Linked DNA regions of Homo sapiens: region 2 is linked to region 1. The links are contacts of gene promoters, found by promoter capture Hi-C in human tissues and cell types (Jung and others, 2019). All regions are on one chromosome and are shown on one strand. The core of a region is centred on a gene start or on the middle of the fragment in contact, and the rest is flanking DNA. Distances in the headings are between cores, read along the strand shown. Region 1 holds the start of PRSS48 (serine protease 48). Region 2 overlaps SH3D19 (SH3 domain containing 19).

Region 1 (3,695 bases), core at 459-2,958:
ATTTAAGCTAGCTTAAGTGAGCCTCAGTTGCCTGTAACTGAATAGTTCTTACCAAAATATCTACATTTTCTGGTCTTCCATTATTATTTGAGACAGGTTCTTTCCGTCGCCCAAGCTGGAGCACAGTGGTACAGTCATAGCTCATGTAGCCTTGAACTACTGACTTCAAGTGATCCTCCTGCCTCAGCCTCCCGAGTAGCTGGGGACTTCAGGTGCACATCACTACACCAGGCTAATTTTTAAATTTTTGTAGATATAGGGTCTCACTGTATTGCCCAGGCTGATCTCAAACTCCTGGTCTCAAGGGATCCTCCCCGTTCAGCCTTTCAAAGTGCTGGGATAATAGGCGTAAGCTACCACGCCCAGCCACTTCTATTATTATTATTATTATTATTATTTTTTTTTTTTTAGACGGAGTCTCGCTCTGTCGCCCAGGCTGGAGTGCAGTGGCGCCATCTTGGCTCACTGCAACCTCCGCCTCCCGGGTTCAAGCGATTCTCCTGCCTCAGCCTCCCGAGTAGCTGTGACTACAGGTGCACGCCACTACACCCAGCTAATTTTTGTATTTTTAGTAGAGACGGGATTTCACCATGTTGGCCAGGATGGTCTCAAACTCCTGACCTCAGGTGATCCACCCGCCTCGGCCTCCCAAAGTGCTGGGATTACAGGCATGAGCCACCGTGCCTGGCCTATTAGTTTTAAACTGCTTATATGTTTCTTTCAAGCATCCCAATATTTTAAGTTGCAAGAGAGCAGTAACATTTTAATAGTTCATTGAATTCTGCCTCCACAGACCTAGCACCCTACAAACAATTGGCACAGAAAACAAAAGGCAGAGTGAAGATTTCTGAGGTAGATGTTGTGGTGTACCATCCAGACCCCCCTTTAGAACTGAAGCATTCATTCCCTTAGCAGCTAGGAGTGTTGGCTGCTGACAGTTCACAGCTAAGTCTTATTCCAAGAACTGCCAACAGAGCCACCTCACCCAAGGTAATGCCCCCTCCTAGGAGGTGGCCTGCATCCAATGATGCAGACCCCTAAGAACGCATCCTTCTTAGCTCAGTACAGAAAGTCTCTGAGGGCCACCTCAGCTCCAGAGAAACTTGTGAGATAGGCTGTGGCCTCTGTTGCAAACGCATCACAGTTCAACTCTCCCTCTAACCAATCCTACTACCCACCCAAGAGCTGCTGATCCTGAGACCACTCTAAAATAAATTTCCTGCACACAAATCTCTGTCTTAGAGTCTGTTTCCCAGGAAACTTGACTTGCAGTGCAGCTAACACTGTAACAGAAATGAAAACAAACAAACAAAAAAACTCAGAAAAATTAACCAGATACTGGGTTCATTTCCTCTTTTCCATTTCTTGCTTTTGGAGAATCCTGTCCACCTTCTATCTCCTTGCTAGAGACAGGGTCCTGTTTCTTCCAGTGCCCTCAACCAGCCACTCCTCAACACCACAGGCAGAAACCCCAGAAACCCTGCTCTCCCAGGACAGCAGGGGGCGCCACAGACCCCAGTTCCTCCCCTGGGTCCTGCAGCTGCACTTCTGAAGTCTGGTCCCTTCAGGATCTGGCAGCGGGTGAAGACCAAAGGAGAGGAGGGGGTGAAGCAGAGGAATCCATCTAGGAGAAGCTAGTTCTGGCAGCTCCCCATTGGCCTCTTCCTGGGAGCCTGAGTCCAGGAAGCAGGAAGCGCTCACTGGCTCTGAGGACAGAGACATGGGCCCTGCTGGCTGTGCCTTCACGCTGCTCCTTCTGCTGGGGATCTCAGGTGAGCGCCAGGGTGGGGTTGAGAAGGCAGAGGCAGAGGATTTTTACTAAAGAGGGCATCACATAGAACAATGTGACACTTCACCCATGGGATGTTAGTTATGAGTAGCACAGCCTGAGAAGGTCCTGAGAGGCTACTATATACCCAGCACCATTCCAATGCTCCCGATTGGAAATAGCAGTACACACACACACCCACAAGATCCCTATCTTCGTGGGACTTATAATCAATGCACATATTAAATGTGTAAATTATAAGGCTTGTTAGAAGGTAATAAGTACTATGAAAGGAAAGGGGCATCTGAAGTACAGGGGCAGGAGTGTTGCAATCTTTAGAAGGGTAGTTAAAGAAGGCCTCACTAAGAAGGAGTCATTTGAGCAGAACTGAAGGGGATAACTAAATTAAGTAAGAGGATCCAGGAAAAGAGCATCTCAAGCAGAGGGAACTGGAAGAGCAAACACTATTCTATGATTTCAGGTATATGCTTGTTCATTTATTTTTCTGGTCCACAGGGATTTAAAGGAAGGGTATACTGGCCAGGCACAGCAGCTCACGCCTGTAATCCCAGCACTTTGGGATGCCAAGGCGGGCAGATCACCTGAGATCAGGAGTTCAAGACCAGCCTGGGCAACATGGTGAAACCCCATCTCTACAAAAAATACAAAAATTAGCCGGGCGTGGTGGCGGGCACCTGTAGTCCCAGCTACTCAATAGACTGAGGCAGGAGAAGTGCTTGAGCCTGGAAAGTGGAGGTTGCAGTAAGCCGAGATAGCGCCACTGCACTCCAGCCTTAGCGACAGAGTAAGACCCCGTCCCCCCAAAAAACAGAAAGGGTATGCTGAGAGAGCAAAAAACTTAACAGGTAGCAAAGAAGAAAGATACACAAATACTGCAAAATGCCAATTCAGTTAAACCAAATAGCACAAAAGTAAACAGCTTGCAACCTCAACCGCATCTGAGGGCATCATTGTATTTATAAACTAACATACTTCATATTCCTGATGGTGACCTTGAATCAAGTAAAAGCTAAATTTGAATCTTCATAGAGCATTTTTTTTTTAAGAGACAGAGTCTCACTCTGTCACCCAGGTTAGAGTGCAGTGGTGCAATCATAGCCCACTGCAACCTCAGACTCCTGGGTTCAAGCAATCCTCCCACTCAGCCTCCCTAGTAGCTGGGACTACAGGTGTGGTTGAACCACACCTGTTGTGTTTGTGGCCCAAAAGAAGAAAAAAAAAACCCTGACTAGTATTTAGGAAGTGATTTGTGAAAAGTAAGAAAAGTCTCTAATATAGCACCTGTCTCCAACATTCCTTTTTCTACTTCTGTGCCTTATCTCTGGTCATCCCTAGTTTGAGAGTCCCATGTGACCTAGGGTTTCCTTCTGCCCTGCCTATCTCACCACATTTTTTTCCTTTTCTTTTCAGACAGGGTCTCACTCTCTCGCCCAGGCTGGAGTGCAGTGGCATGATCTAAACTCACCGCATCCTCCACCTCCCGGGCTCAAGCAATCCTCCTGCTTCAGCCTCCCAAGTAGCTGGGACTACAGGCATGCACCATCATGTCAGGCTAATTTCTTTATATTTTTTGTAGAGACGGTGTTTGGCCATGTTGCCCAGGCTGGTTTTGAACTCCTGGACTTGAGCAATCCACCCACCTCAGCCTCCCAAAGTGCTGGGGTTATAGGCGTGAGTCACTGTGCCCAGTCAATCTTACCACTTTCATTTGTCTATTGGTTCATTTATGTAGTCATGCAAATATTCACTGAGAACCTGTCTGTGTGCTAGCTACCAGCTAGAGCTCACACTTGTATGTAGTGTGCTGTTGTCAGTATCCACCTCTCACTGACCAGGGAACATCCACAGATAAAGCTGTGGCCCAAGTATAGGCTGACCTGCCAAGGCCAGCACCCTGCAGCAGCAT
Region 2 (3,695 bases), core at 572-3,071, 100 kb before region 1:
CTAATTAGATGTGAAGGCAGAGAAGTAACAATAATAACTACTAATTAATGATCATAGGGCTTTCCTGCATAATCACATTTAACCCTTGCAATACCCTAGGTGAGGAGTAGTATTACGTCTAAACAAATGAGGAAACAGAGGCACTGTGAGGTTAAGAAAATTGCCCAAGGTCATGTAACAAATATGGTAGACCCTGGCAGACTCCAAATCTGAACAGCTAGCCACTGTGTGACACGGTGAGAAGACTCAAGGATGATCTCTGGGTTTCTCCAGGAAAGGCTGGTGTGTGTGTGATGGTGTCAATAGTGAGTTGCAAAATATAGGAAGAAAGAAGATTTAGAAAGAAGATAGTATTCAGCTCAGTATAACCCCATAGTCCAGAGCAATGGTTAAAGTCAGATAGCACAAGCAAATTACACACTTTGCTAAAAGACGCCCCAATAATTAAATGTTGTTCAATGAAGTGGTAGAAATCAAGAAATGGAAAAGGCTGAGTATGAAGCATGAGACTGTATTCATGCTTAAAGTATATTGTTGACCTTCCTTTTTGAAGATGACTATAATTATCTGCTAGATGATACAAAATAAATTCTCAGCAATTATTAGTTGAGTTGCCATCCCCATAGAAACTAGCAAGTTCTACAAAAGGTAATATTTCTTTAGCTTGCTGCTGTTGGGTTTATCTATCCCTGTCCTTCTCTGAATCTTGTTAATACCAAAAAGGTTTATATAAGAAAATGGTATTATCAAAGACTTGAAAAGTTTTTAAAGTGTTGCCTGGTTAAGGATTCATGAAAATATTGGGTAGCAACATTATACAGTGAAAAATAAACTAGGCTTAGAATAAAAACACTAAGTTTGAATCCTGACTTGAACAATTGTTTTATGACACTGGGCAAGTGATCCATAGATCTCTCTCAGTCTCACTGTCTTCATTTGCAAACTTAGGCCAATGATAACTCACAGACGGTTGTTGCAATTATTAAATAAAATAATGTATGTCTCAGTATTTAGCAGAGCATTAGGTACACTGCAGAAGCTTAATATATTCAAATGTTTTTCCTTCCACCCTTTATGGACAAAAGCCATGTATGTCTTTTAGTTTATACGCTAAAATGTTGTGTGTCAGTTACAATGTTCTGTGCATGATGAATATTTAATAATGTGTATGTTTGTTTTCATTTTAAACACACCTGTGCTATGCAGAATGTGGCTGTGAAATCACAGAGCCTGTACTATTTTGATGCATGTTAAACATTTATACAGTGACAGTTAAGCTTTTGAAAATTCTATTAAGTTTATATGTTCACAAATTCCACCCAAATAAGTCAACAGCAGTAAAAGAAATCTTATCAATGACAAGTAGAGCAGCTTAGTTTGACAAATCAAAGATAAGCTTTACCATCACACTCTCCAACGGAACAGTTAGAGGAAAGAAAACATACTCTCTGCCTTCTGGGATATTTAATTGTACTGATCTTGGCAGCTAACTTGTATCTGTTGTATTTTATTTACAAAACTTTTCACTCTCAAGGGAAGATGTTCTGTGAAGATTAAAGGAACAACTTTGCAACATGTGGCTGGGTCCTCATTCCGTACATTTTCGAGTCCTCCCCTGGAGCTGGCCCCTCTCCCAGCACTCCCAGCTGAGGCCCATTTCATCTGAGGAGCCCCTCTGGGGCCACTGCATGACTTCCCATCTAAGAGAAGCTTCCTCTGCATCCTTCTACATGTTCCATAACCTCCCTGGATCCTTTCAATGTGAAGTCTGAACTTCTATCTGCCAAGAGTAAGGGGAGCCAGCCCCACAACCTATTATAGTTTAGCTCCTAGCCCCAGTCTGCTTACTTCTGGCTCATATAATAGTAATCGATGCATGTGTCTCCCCATTTCTGACTCCATTACCCCCATCCCATATTTTCCCTTCCCTCCCTGTCTCCATTCCCCACATAGCTCCCATGTTTCTTGATCTGTCTGTTCATTCCTCTGTTTCTATACACACACATGCATGTGCACATACTTGTATACACACACCTCAATAACTTATGTACCAGAAACTAAAACAGCAAGTGCCATTTAAAATACCCTATCATGAGTTTAGATTCCCCTCCACTGCTGATTTTTCACTCACCTAGAACCATCTCTGAACCAACAGATTCTTCAGCCAGGTTCCCCGATGGGGTGGGCAAAACATCATCATCAAAGCTGATGAGATCGATGTCCACCAAGGGCTTGCTCTGCAGAACTGGAACTGGGGGGTTGGCTGGGGGCCCTTCTCCCAGTGACTTGTATGCTTTGGCTTGTGATGCCCCTGCGAGTCGGGGAGGAACAGTGACAGGTTTCAGTGGAGCTGAAGGGTAGGTGGGGTTTTCTGAGGAAACAGATTTCTTCAGCAGCAAAGGCCGCGGGGCAGGAGTTGGCACTTTCTTCCCACTATCAGAGCTCTCAGCCAGGGGCCCTCTTCCCGGAATCTCAGGATTAACACTTCGTATAAGGCCAGGGTTTGGTTTCTTTGGCAATTCAGGTTTGGTTACTGGGATGCTTCCCGCTTCTTGCAGGGGAGGGTATGGGGTGAGTCCTTCCTTGGAGGTCACCTTGAGTCTGTTCTCAGTCCCAGAGTCCCACTCTCCAGAAGCTCTGTTAGCAGCTGGTTTGGGAGCTACAGAAGGTTTCCCTGAGGAAACAGTAGGCTTTGGAGGAAGTGAACGTGGAGTAATTTCTGGTTTCTTGGGCAGTCCTGAGGTTTCTATGTTTGTCTGACCCTCAAACACTTTAATTCTGGAAACAATACTATTTTGGCTTTGTTCTGTGTTCATAATGTTCATCACTGCCTGACTGTCTGAGGTGCTAGCGTTGTCCAGCAGAGACTGGGGCCGGCCTGGGGATGACTCCTCTCCTACGGCTGCTGGGCTGATTTTCTGTTGACTTTGCTCTTTAATGTGAGAATCTCTGGGTATTGGTCTGAGGTTGCTTTTTGATCTTGGTTTTGGCACTGGACATCTTGTAGCACTGGGGTTTTCTGGACAATTCGGTTCTTCAGAAATATCAAAGACGATTAAAGGTGCCACATTTGTTGGAAGATTGCCAGACGAGACTGCTGAGAAAGGCTGAAGAGGCTTGAGAGGTGCCTGTAGTGCTGACGAGACCAAAACAAAACCAAAACAAATAAAAACAAGCCATAACGTTAACAATGTATAAGGAAAAAAATAGAAGATACACAGATTTAAAACTACATACATGGAATATCAAGAGATTTTGGTTTCTTTTAATTAGTAAAAAGTGATTCAAAAATGGAAATGTTTATTCTGTTTCCTGTAGGAGTGCTCTTCATATAACACTTTTTTTTTTTTGAGACAGGGTCTTGCTCTGTTGCCCTGGCTGGTGTACAGTGGCTCTAACACGGCTCACTGCAGCCTCACCCTCCAGTGCTCAAGCGATCCTCTCACTTCAGCTTCCTGAGTAGCTGGGACTACAGACACATACCACCACACTCAGCGAATTTTTCCATTTTTTTGCAGAGATGGGATTTCACCATGTTGCCCAGGCTGGTCTCAAACTCCTGTGCTCAAGCAATCCACCCGCCTTAGTCTCCTAAAGCGTTGGGATTAAAGGCATAAGCCACAGTGCAACACTTTAAAAAAGCCTAACAGGACAACCACCCTTAGCATCCTATCAAGTATAAGTTGCTAAATATA

The links. The method cuts DNA at HindIII sites, captures the fragments that hold promoters and counts their contacts. A contact is called where the count stands out against the background at its distance.
Region 2: a fragment that was not itself captured here is called in contact with the fragment with the promoter of PRSS48 in region 1 in 2 of the 25 tissues and cell types used here (H1 embryonic stem cells and dorsolateral prefrontal cortex).

Annotation. Positions count from the first base shown.
Region 1 is chr4:151,275,453-151,279,147 of GRCh38, forward strand. It overlaps PRSS48 (serine protease 48), which reads left to right and starts at 1,709. Exons shown (of 5, transcript NM_183375.5): 1 at 1,709-1,772. The coding sequence starts at 1,721. The region is part of intron 1 of SH3D19 (SH3 domain containing 19); the gene reads right to left. The HindIII fragment of the contact is 14,422 bases long and covers 1-3,695 here.
Region 2 is chr4:151,172,539-151,176,233 of GRCh38, forward strand. It overlaps SH3D19 (SH3 domain containing 19), which reads right to left. Exons shown (of 20, transcript NM_001378122.1): 7 at 2,132-3,136. It overlaps LOC105377485 (a long non-coding RNA gene), which reads left to right. Exons shown (of 2, transcript XR_007058329.1): 2 at 1-1,573. Among named protein-coding and RNA genes, the nearest start is that of SH3D19-AS1, 50 kb to the left of the region's middle. The HindIII fragment of the contact is 5,014 bases long and covers 1-3,695 here.